Linked DNA regions of Homo sapiens: region 1 is linked to region 2. Evidence: promoter capture Hi-C in 16 types of primary human blood cells and fetal thymus (Javierre and others, 2016). All regions are on one chromosome and are shown on one strand. Each heading gives the region's core, a stretch centred on a gene start or on the middle of the fragment in contact. The rest is flanking DNA. Distances are from core to core; before and after follow the strand shown.

Region 1 (5,674 bases), core at 1,935-4,434, 110 kb after region 2:
ATTTTTACCAGTTTATTGTTGGCCTTTTGCCTTAGTTTATAGTTTATTTTGCCAAAAAAAAAAAAAAAAGGCTTAAGGTTTGCTTTCTAAAGATCACATATACTTACCCTTTTCTTTAACTAAGATCTGAGAAGTCAAAAATGATTCAGAGAAAACCACAGATCCTAAACAACCATTGCCTCCCAGTAAGTCAGGAATGTCATAGACGGCCATACAAGCCTGCATTGAATGAGAAACCAGTTAGATCAGTTACCAGCCCAAAACTTTCAGAGAAGTCCATAAGAATGAGACCACAAATACTGCCTAAAGGAACATGGCAAAAGAGTACTGAAGAGTTTCTAGGGAAAACTGGAGTTATCCTAAATACATCTTTGAACTGGGAGGTGACTTTAGGATCACCCAGGCTTCCCTGAAATTGCTCCCTGATCAGAGACACCCTTGGGCTATAAGGAAAGTATCCTTATGTTTCCGTATATTCCCTCAAATTGCTTTATGCTGACTAGGCACAGTGGCTCATGCCTGTAATCCCAGTAATTTGGGAGGTCAAGGAACCCAGGAGTTTGAGACCACCCTGAACAACACAGTGAGATCCCCACTCTACTAAAGAAAAAATTAGGCTAGGCATAATGACTCATGCCCATAATCCCAACACTTTGGGAGGTTGAGGCGGGTGGATCACTTGAGCCCAGGAGTTTGAGACTAGCCTGGGCAACATGGTGAAACCCCATCTCTACTAAAAATACAAAAAAAAATTAGCCAGGCATGGTGGCGTGTGCCTGTAATCCCAGCTACTTGGGAGGCTGAGGCAGGAGAATTGCTTGAACCTGGGAGGTGGAGGCTGCAGTGAGCTGAGATCGCGCCACTGAACTCCAGCCTGGGCAACAGAGCAAGACTCTGTCTCAAAAAAAAAAAAAAAAAAAAAAGAAAAAAAAATAGCCAGGCATGGTGGCGTCTGCCTGTGGTCTCTGTTATTCAGGAGGCTAAGGCAGGAGGATTGTTTGAGCCCAGGAGGTTGAGGCTGCAGTGATCTATGATCATGCCACTGCACTCCAGCCTGGGCAACGGACCGAGACCCCGTCTCAAAAAAAAAAAAAAAAAAAAAAAAAAAGCAAGAAAGCTATCAAGCTTTTATGGCCAAGACAAATAAAAGCTGAGGCTTCAGTAGCCTGGAAACAAAATTAGAACAACTCAGAGAGCTCCCAAATGTCTGGTAAGAAAGCCCTAATTTATTAGGTAAAAACTAGTGAAAATGAAACAATTCCGGGAAGAAGCCAGCAGAAGAAAGAGAAAATGATGTTAGCTAGAGCTAGAGTCTGTGATGACCAGGAAGATCTGATGAGGGACATGGGATAAGTAGCACAAGGACCTGTCCCCTCCTACCCTGAATAGTAGTGAGCGGTGGGTGCTGGTGCAGATCTCCTAAGTCCACTTTCACATATTGTCGTCCTAGCCTGGGACGCCTGTCCCACCCCTTAGGACAGAGACAAAAGATCTGAGGCTCTTGAACGGATTGCTGAATTTTCAAATAAAAACTTAAAGAGGCCACAAGGTTGAAAGGAAAAAAACCACAGTTAAGGCCAAAGCCCTTAATTTTCCATATTATTATGATAATAGGATATACAAAAGAGACAAGTAGGCGTCTATATTTGAATTAACTTTCCTTTCAGGTTTGACAACTGGAAGGTTTATCTAAAGCTGTCTCAAAGGATTTCGAGCATCTGAAGACACAGAACCCTCCTGAGCTACATGGTCCCTCTTAAGTGACAATGGCAATCCTATGTCTTTGGTTCCCAGACCAATCAGGTGGACAGATCCTGGGGGTTCCTGATCCTTCATGTTCATATTTGGCCACTGGTATTGAGGAAGGGAAGAGAGGATATTAAAAAGATAACATGTAGCATTTGTTGGACACTTGTTATGTACTTCCCACCATGTGGCACGGGGAAAGAAAAAATACAGCATGGTGCCTGTCTTCAGGAAATCTATAATGTATAGCTGGAGAAACAAGGGCATTCTTATATGAAGGTCATCATATGACACATTATGATATCATATGACACATTAGGATATAATTATTTCTTAATTTGTGTAGTACAAACTGCAACTGCAAGGACTATAGGAATACTTGTAGGGAGAAATCAACAGGGAAGGCTTTGGGGAGGATATAGAACTTCATCTCTGGATAAGAGGACAGAATGTAGACAAAAAGCATCAACTTCCTGCCTCTTATTTCCTATCTCATTAGCTGTGCATACTTGACGCAAGACTATGATTTTACTGGATTCCTAATCACCTGCTACTATGCAAAGCATCTTCCAAAGCACTGCTCAAGAGTCTAAGGAGAGAAGTCAGGGATTTAAAGTCTAACAAGGAGATAAAGTATTATCACCTAAATATCAGAAAGTATTTCCCAATGTTTTAATGATATCACAAAAAAGTCTAAACTAGTTCTAAAAGAACATCCACACAAAATGTTGACAGATGGGGACCAGGAACATTATAAAAACATAAATTACAACCTTAAAAAAATTACCCTTGTTGTGCTATTCTCTGTAGATAGGTTAACACTACTGACAGGAACTTTTGAGTTACTTTTCCACAGGTGATGGTGATGGGGATGCGCTTGTACCAAATTATCCACTGGGTGCTGCTCACCCAGTTCCCTGGGACCAAAGCTTTTTCAAACTAAGGCTCAGGCAGTGGTCACAGAACAGACTCAAGATATAACACACACCACAAACAGAATCTTGGCTAGATATGTACTACCCTCTCATGTACCATTTGCCAATCTTCTTCACATCAGGATGTTCTGGGGTAAAGGGAGGACTCAGCTTGTGGCTGAGAACAACTGGCCTAGAAACTCTGGCTCCCCTTCGCCATGCCATCCCACCCCAGGGACCATTATCTCAGTGCATCTCCAAACCATGCCCCCAGCACACAGGTTGGAAAACGTTGCTCTGACTACTCTACTTCATGGCAGACCCAGGTCCCTGTTGATTATTGGCCATTTAAATAATTATAGTCATGTATCACTTAATGACAGGGATACATTCTGAGAAATGCATCATTAGCTGATTTCATCACTGTGTGAACATTGTAGAGTGTACTTAAACCTAGATGGTGTAGCCTACTATACACCTAGGCTAGCTGGTATAGTCTATTGCTCCTAGGCTACAAACCCGTACAGCATGTTACTATACTGAATACTGTAGGCAATTATAACATGATGGTAATATTTGTGAATTTAGGCATATCTACACATAGAAATGGTGGGTAAAAATACAGTATTATGATATTATGGGACCACTGTTGTATCTGCAGTCCACTGTTGACCAAGATGTCCTTTTGTGGTACAGGACTGTAGTTAATTTTCTCAGGTTCCCTGTTTTTGTTTGTTTGTTTTCTGAGACTAAATCTCACTCTGTCATCCAGGCTGGAGTGCAGTGGTGCAATCACAGTTCACTGCAGTCTCAAACTCCTGGACTCAAGTGATCCTCCTGCCTCAGCCTCCTGAGGAGGTCGGGCTACAGGTGCATGCCACCACACCTGCCTAATTAAAAAAATTTTTTTTTTTAGACACGGGGTCTCACTACGCTGTCAAGACTGGTCTCAACTCTAGGTTCCTGTTAAGGACATCAATGCAAGTCTTGGAACTCAAAGATGCCACTGAAAAACTTAGTCTGTTAGTCAAGGCAAGCTTGTCCTGGATTCACATTTCGACAAGAGCAATCTCAGCTACCTGTAGGAAGGCTTCATAACCCAGAAAGAGGTGCCTCCCAACACCTCAGTTAAGACTCTGGACACTGGGGAAGCCTAGGCAAGGGAGAATAGATGTGGGTGGGCCTAGCACAGCTACCTGGGTACCTTCAGTAAACACAGGCTCACCCCTGCTATGGCTGGGATAGGACTGAGAGAAGATCAGCTTCTTCAGGTGGGGTGGGCTGCCCAAGACCCCCACCCACTCCCACCTCCCAACTTACAGATGTCCCTCTACAGGCCATTCCCAGCCAGCTGACCCATGATAGCTCTGCTTACCGTCTTCACAAAGGATAAGCTATCTTCACTGTCCAGCGGTACAATTCTAGGAGGGGAAAGAGATGGAAGACTATGTTAAAGAGTTTTTAAGTGTACTTAAATTTACAGTGTTTGCTTTTTTCAACTTGGCAATGACAAGTCATAGATTCGGATTGCTCTTAGGGCCTTTCAAAACACTGGGTTGCATGTCTGTAGAATTGGTATGTGGGCCACTAAGGTGAGTATGTCCATCCCCACCTCTGCCCCTCAGCTCTGCAGTGGGAAGCACTCAGGGTACAGGGGCTCAGCTGAGCACAGCCAGCCCAAGCCCAACCCTGGAGTGATGTCACTGCTAGGTGTGGAAGCATGAGAAAACCACTCATGTCAGCAGCCTCCCCTCTCTTTATCTTCCTAAAACTTGCTCCATGTAAGGATGCACCACAATCATATACGCACCTTCCCTGATTATTCACAGCATGTATATGAAAAGTCATCTTGGAGCTGTAGACCAGAAACAAAACAAAAGAAAAATCAGTCTGCTCCTGCTCCTCAGATACCTGTGCAGGGTACCTGCTTGGGATTCTCAAGGCCACACAGTGAGGTGTGTGTCATCCTTGCTTTACACAGATTTACCCTATTTTGGATACTTTCCCCAGGGTCCCACACCACCAGCAGGTATGAGGCCAGAATCTGACTCTAATCACAGCCCTGCCTCTGTGCAAGTCCTAAGGACGGTCTTGACTCTTGGACCACAACAGGAGAAAATGACATGAGAGGACTGCTGCTCACTGCAGACTGAGAATGACCCTCCATCCCTGCTCTGAGCGCAAGCAGAGGCCACGTCTCTGCAACTCACAGTCAAATGCTGTGGAGCCATGGGTGAGGCCTTCAGAGTTGAGAAATAACTAGAAAACCCTTTCAGCTTACTCTAACTTGTGTAAGTGTAATCTCTTGCATTAACACATACTAGATAGCTACACACTAATTACTGTCTGCATTCATGGCTCCCACTCCTTCCCCTCTTGGGAGAAAGAGATCTGCTAACCTGAAGCAGTTTGAGGGTCCTCAGTGAAGTAATCTTTTTTTTTTTTTTTTTTTTTTTTTGAGACAGAGTCTCATTCTGTCACCCAGGCTGGAGTGCAGTGGCGCAATCTCGACTCACTGCAACCTCCACCTCCTGGGTTCAAGCGATTCTCCTGCTTCAGCCTCCCCAATAGCTGGGACTACAGGTGTGTACCATCATGCCTGGCTAATTTTTGCATTTTTAATGAAGGCGGGGTTTTGCCATGTTGGTCAGGATGGTCTTGAACTCCTGACCTCAAGTGATCGCCTGTCTTGGCCTCCCAAAGTGTTAAGATTACAGGCGTGAGCCACTGCGCCCCGCCCTCAGTGAAGCAATCTTTGTGGTGAGAAAGGGGAGGGGCTCTAGGTGGAAGACTGGCCTGGGGGACTTTTCTCCCATTGACTGGTGTTTTCTTCTTGTGCCTTTCTCCAGCTAGGGCAGACACCTAGGCCTAGGAGGCCTTGGGACTGAGAGGGGGCCTGCTCTGGGGAGGCTGAGTGGCCTAGGCAAGGGCCCAAGTAAAGGAGAAGTAGAATGACTATGCCAGCCATATTGATGGTAAGAGAATACCCCACTGTGACAGCAGCTAACATCTAT
Region 2 (6,176 bases), core at 3,562-6,061:
CGCCCCTATTTCCCAATCTAGACTCCGCCCACTACTCGGAGCCCCGCCCAGCGGCACATCACAGAGAGGCTTTAATGTCAGACATTAAAATGAGTTTGGGGGGTGTAAAGAAACCCACAATGTTAAGAGGAAATTATAGCAGACGGTATGTCCAGTAGAAAACATCTATGTATGTTTTTTTTTTTTGAGACGGAGTCTCTGTCGCACAGGCTGGAGTGCGGTGGTGCGATCTCGGCTCACTGCAACCTCCACCTCCCAGGTTCAAGCGATTCTCCTGCCTCAGACTCCCGAGTAGCTGGGATTACAGGCGCCCGCCACCACGCCCGGCTAATTTTTGTATTTTTAGTAGAGATGGGGGTTTCACCGTGTTGGCCAGGCTGGTCTCGAACTCCTGACCTTGTGATCCACCCACCTTGGCCTCCCAAAGTGCTGGGATTACAGGCGTGAGCCACCGCGCCCGGACTATATATGTTTTAAAAATCACTAAACAATCCCACATAGTGTTTATGGAAACAACCGTGGAAAAAGTACGAAAAGAGGCTTGGGACTGATGCACACCAACTTCAGGATAGCGATTACCTCTAGGAGGAGGGAAGCGGGTTGGGGTTTTGCTGTATCTGTGACACTGAATTTCTTTCTTTCTTTCTTTCTTTTGAGGGGAAGGGGAGGGGAGGGGAGGGCAGTACTGGAATTTATTAAGCTTTTTGTATACATGATAACAGAAGTAAAGATTTATTTCAGGAGCCAGGCACAGAGGCTCGTCTGTTAACCCAATACTTTGGGAAGTCTAGGTAGAGGTGAGCCTAGGAGTTCAAGACCAGCCTGGGCAACATGATGAAACCCTGTCTCTACAAAATACAAAAATTAGCCAGGTGTGGTGGCATGCACCTGTGATTCCAGGTACTTGGGAAGATGAGGTGGGAAGATCACCTGAGCCCAGGGAGGTCGAGGCTGCAGTGAGCCATGATCATGCCAGTGCACTCCAGCCTGGGTGATAGAGTGAGACCCTGTCTCAGAAAATAAAAATAAATAAAAATAAATTCAGGACCAATGAACAATGGTGAGAAAGGGATTTGAAAAAATACGGGCCAGATGAGGTGGCTCTCCCCTGTAATCCTAGCACTTTGGGAGGCCGAGGTGGGCGGATCACTTCAGGTCAAGTGTTCAAAACCAGCCTAGCTGACGTGATGAAATCCTGTCTCTACTAAAAATACAAACAATGAGTGGGGCGTGGTGGCACATGCCTGTAATCCCAGCTACTCGGGAGGCTGAGGCAGGAGAATCACTTGAACCCAGGGGGCGGACGTTGCAGTGAGCCAAGATTGCACCACTGCACACCAGCCTGAGCGACAGAGCAAGACTCTGTCTCAAAAAAAAAAAAAAAAGAAAGAAAGAAAGAAAAAGAAAAAGAAAAAATATGGGCTGGGCGAGGTGGCTCACACCTGTAATCCCAGCACTTTGGGAGGCTGAGGTGGGTGGATCACCTGAACTCAGGAGTTTGAGACCAGCCTGACAAACACAGTGAAACCCTGTCTCTACTAAAAATACAAAATTAGCTTGGCGTGGTGGTGGGTGCCTGTAATCCCAGCTACTTGGGAGGCTGAGGCAGGAGAATCTCTCGAAGCCGGGAGGCAGAGGTTGCAGTGAGCCGAGATCACACTATTGCACTCCAGCCTGGGCAACAGAGTGAGACTCAGTCTCAAAAAAAAAAAAAAAAAAAAAAAAGCTGGGCACCGTGGCTCACGCCTACAATCCCAACCAACACTTTGGGAGGTCGAGGTGGGTGGATCACCTGAGGTCGGGAATTTGAGACCAGCCTGACCAACATGGAGAAACCCCATCTCTACTAAAAATACAAAATTAGCCGGGTGTGGTGGCTCATGCCCATAATCCCAGCACTTCGGGAGGCTGAGGCAGGCGGATCACGAGGTCAGGAGATCAAAACCATCCTGGCTAACACGGTGAAACCCCGTCTCTACTAAAAATACAAAAAAATTAGCCAGGCGTGGTGGTGGGCGCCTGTAGTCCCAGCTACTTGGGAGGCTGAGGCAGGAGAATGGTGGGGACCCGGGAGGCGGAGCTTGCAGTGAGCTGAGATCGCGCCACTGCACTCCAGCCTGGGCGACAGAGTGAGACTGTCTCAAAAAAAAAAAAAAAAGAAGAAGAAAGATACAAAAATTAACCAGGCATGGTGGTGCATGCCTGGAGTCCCAGCTACTCAGGAGGCTGAGGTGGGAGAACTGCTCGAACCCAATATGCAGAGGTTGCAGTGAGCCGGGACCACACCACTGTACTTCAGCCTGGGCAACAGAGCAAGACTCCATCTCAAAAAAAATAAATAAATAAAAGAATGAAAAAGAAAGTTATCTATGGACTTGTAATTATAGATGTCAGTTGTGATCTTTTTGTTTGTTGGTTTTTTGAGACAGGGTCTCACTCACATCACCCAGGCTAGAGTACAGTGGCACTCTTGGCTCACTGCAGCCTCGACTTCCCAGGCTCAGGTGATCCTCCCACCTCAGCCTCCTAAACAGCTGTGACTACAGGTGTGTGCCCCCAAGCCCAACTAATTTTTTGTATTTTTTGTAGAGACTGGGTTTCACCATGTTGTCTAGGCTTGTCTTGAACTCCTGGGATCAAGTGATCCACTGTGCCCAAGCTAGTTATCTTACATTACAGAACACCTACTATGTACCAGGAGCTGGGATTTAAGAATGAGAGGTGAGGCTGGGCACCGTGGCTCAAGCCTGTAATCTCAGCACTTTGGGAGGCTGAGGTGGAGGGATCTCCTGAGGTCAGGAGTTTGAGACCAGCCTGGTCAATATGGTGAAACCCCACCTCTACTAAAAGTACAAAAATTCACTGGGTGTGGTGGTGCATGTCTGTAATCCCAGCTACTCAGGAGGCTGAGGCAGGAGAATCCCTTGAACCCGGGAGTCGGAGGTTGAAGTGAGCCGAGATCGTGCCACTGCACTCAAGCCTGGGCGACAAGAGCAAGACTCCATCTCAAAACAACAACAACAACAACAACAAAACACAGTGGCTGATGCCTGTAATCCCAGCACTTAGGGAGGCCGAGGTGGGCATATCACGACGTCAGGAGTTCGAGACCAGCCTGGCCAACATGGTGAAACCCCGTCTCTACTAAAAATGCAGAAATTAGCTGGGCGTCGTGGGGGGTGCTTGTAGTCCCAGCTACTCAGGAGGCTGAGGCAGGAGAATCGCTTCAACCCAGGAGACAGAGGTTGCAGTGAGCCAAGATCATGCCATTGCACTCCAGGCCAGGTGACTAGAGCAAGACTCCGTCTCAAAAAAAAAAAAAAAAAAGAAAAAGAGAGGTGAGCAAAAACAGATATGGTTTTTACCATTAGGATTTTTAGAAGAGAAAACAGAATCACACAAATGAATATCTATTTGCAGTGCAGAGGTCAGTGCTATGCAAGCAGATGAAAGGGAGCTCAGGGAAGGTTTTCCTGAGCTGGGGCTTGAGCTGGCTAAGATCCAAGAAAGGCATCCATGTAAGGTGGGCTGTTTTTCTTCTTTTCAGGCTCCTCGGGGTAACTGATGTCCCCCAAGCCCTCCTCTGCCCCCAAATCCCCATGGCCACTCCTCTAGGGACTCTGCATAATGGTTAGTGTTTCTACTTCAATAAAAGAAAACAGGTCACCACCCAAAGCAGTGGTTCCCACACATTTTTTTTCTTTTTCAGACGCAGTTTTGCTCTTGTTGCCCAGGCTGGAGTCCGATGGCACGATCTCCGCTCACTGCAACCCCCACCTCCCGAATTCAGGCGATTCTCCTGAATCCTGAATTCTCTGAACTGGGATTACAGGCATGCACCACCATGCCCAGCTAATTTTGTACTTTTTGGTAGAGATGGGGTTTCTCCATGTTGGTCAGGCTGGTTTCAAACTCCTGACCTCGGGTGATCCACTCGCCTCAGCCTCCCAAAGTGCTGGGATTACAGGCGTGAGCCACCGGGCTTTCCCACACTTTGATGAGCATCAGAATGGCCTGAGGAGCTTGGTAAGAACTCAGACTCCCTCCCTTTCTTGTCCATGGGCAGAAGTGGCCATTCAAGAGGTACTGACACAGGGGTCCAGGCGGGGGGCAGAGGGCTGAGTCTCTGGAGGAGGGAGGTCAGATGACTTGCTGCAAAGAGAGTATCAGCAGAGGTTCAGCAGACCCACCTTTGAGAGGGCACTTCCTACTTTCTGTTGTGTTTGGAATGCAAAGATCTGGCTGAAACGGTGGCCACGGAGAAGGGGTGATAGATTTGAGAGGCTGGAGGGATGAGGAAGTGAGGAACTCTACATACTGAGCTCTCAAGCCTAGGAGTGAAAACGGGTGAGAAGTTTGGGCTTGTTTTAGGCTATGCCGAGTTTAAGTTCACAGTCGAGTGGATCATAGCTGGCGGGTAAGGCTGAAGGTGAGATCAGGATGAGGGTTTGGAAGCCCTTGCCTAGAAGGAGGCAGTTTTTTGAGACAGCATAGGAGAGCGCAAACCTCCAGGGTCACAGGGCTGCAGTCTTCTCCTTTCGGAGACCCCATTGCAGAGAAGAGCGAAAGCAGGGGCGGGGTGGGGGTGGGAGTGGTCTCTTCCGGTTCTTGAAGATAGCGTCCCTTAGGCAGGAGGGGTGGGTCACTCAGTCTCCAGGCTCGGGAGGCCCCCAGCAAATCGGACGCTGTGGGCTAGGCCGCCACCGCGAGCCCACTCGCCCGATACGCGCCTTGGGGTCCGGGTCGGCTTTCCCCGGGACCCCTGGCCGGAAACTGAGCCGTTCACTTCCGCCACCAGCCGGAAGTTTTCTGTCACTGGACGCCAAGGAGTTTTCGGTGGCTCAGCTGGGTAACCGGGGATCACCATGGCGGCCTCATTGGTGGGGAAGAAGATCGTGTTTGTAACGGGGAACGCCAAGAAGCTGGAGGAGGTGCCGGGAGGGTGTTGGGGGCTAACTGGGAGGCGGCTGGGAATAGGGCGGAGAAGGGGCTTCCGGGAGGAGGGAAGCACGTGGGAGGAGGCATGGAGAGAGAACAGAATTCAGCCCGGAAGAATGGGTCCTGACCCGGCTGTGTGGAAAAGCTGGGGCGCAAGAAGGGAGTGGCTGCAGAATCGGGGCGCCCCGGGGTTGGCGAGGGAACGAGGGTCTCGACAGATCCCGACACAGGGCTTGTGTGGTCAGCGACTGCGGGACCCGGAGGAGTAGCGGGGCTCTTAACAACCGCCCCGAAGGTCACCTATTGAAGTAGACCCCAACCCAGTGTCCCGACACTCTTCTGGGACTTATCCACATCCCGCTGCTGGGCCAGGGCTAGCAGGACCCAGAGAGGGCGTGGGACGGAGTTCCACACTGAGCAGTCCGTGCCTCACCACCGTCCTGAAATGTTCTAACCTCTTTTCGCGTGTGTGAAATGGGGATGATGCAGGACATTTGCTTCACAGCGCTATAGAGAGGAGGAGTAAAGGAGGCAGTGGATCTAAAGTTTCTGTTTGCAGGGACTTTGTGGCTAGCAAGTAACAGAAACACACAGGGAGCTCATGTAAGCCACCAGATGACTCCTGTGGGAATATAGTGTTATCGTGTCCCACAGGACCTGAAGTTCTCTCAAGAAGCTGACTTGTCCTTGTTCTCTCTGGATGCTGATCCCTATTCCTGTTCATATCTTTCCCCTTTCTTCCCTGCTGGGGGATGGAACAATGAGGCTTCTACCAGATATCAGCTCCGACTGGCTTTGCTTGAATCAAGAGTTTGCCCCTGTTCAATCAGCCATAGCCATGGAGTGGGGGTCATGTGTGGGGGATCAGGATGACACCCACTGGATATGTCTGAGGCAGACCAGTGGGGTGTAATCACTAGGGACACCTACATTTGCCTGTAGTGTAGGGAGGGACTGATGTCACTTTGGTGCCAGGACTGAGTGGCCTTCTCAGGAACCAGAGCCTTTTGCCGAAAAAAGGTTTGGGATCCTGAGGCCAGACCAGTCAGGCAGTCCACCCTGAACAGAGCCCATGCAGGACAGTGGGCATGAGACCCCAAACCTCTGGCTGAGAATATTGCCCTCACTTAAAGAAGGAGCTGGAACCCGAGTGCAGTGCCTCACGCCTGTAATCCCAGCACTTTGGGAGGCTGAGGTGGGCAGAACATCTGAGGTCAGGAGTTCAAGACCAGCCTGGC

What was found. The method cuts DNA at HindIII sites, captures the fragments that hold promoters and counts their contacts. A CHiCAGO score of 5 or more calls a contact.
Region 1: a contact is called between a fragment that was not itself captured here and the fragment with the promoter of ITPA in region 2, in 1 of 17 cell types (fetal thymus). The highest score is 6.6, in fetal thymus.

What each region holds. Positions count from the first base shown.
Region 1 is chr20:3,318,182-3,323,855 of GRCh38, forward strand. It overlaps DNAAF9 (dynein axonemal assembly factor 9), which reads right to left. Exons shown (of 37, transcript NM_001009984.3): 15 at 4,471-4,515; 16 at 4,036-4,081; 17 at 108-219. Among named protein-coding and RNA genes, the nearest start is that of SLC4A11, 82 kb to the left of the region's middle. The HindIII fragment of the contact is 1,022 bases long and covers 2,674-3,695 here.
Region 2 is chr20:3,204,687-3,210,862 of GRCh38, forward strand. It overlaps ITPA (inosine triphosphatase), which reads left to right and starts at 4,812. Exons shown (of 8, transcript NM_033453.4): 1 at 4,812-4,931. The coding sequence starts at 4,866. RefSeq lists enhancers at 4,407-5,055, 4,938-5,007. The HindIII fragment of the contact is 7,672 bases long and covers 699-6,176 here.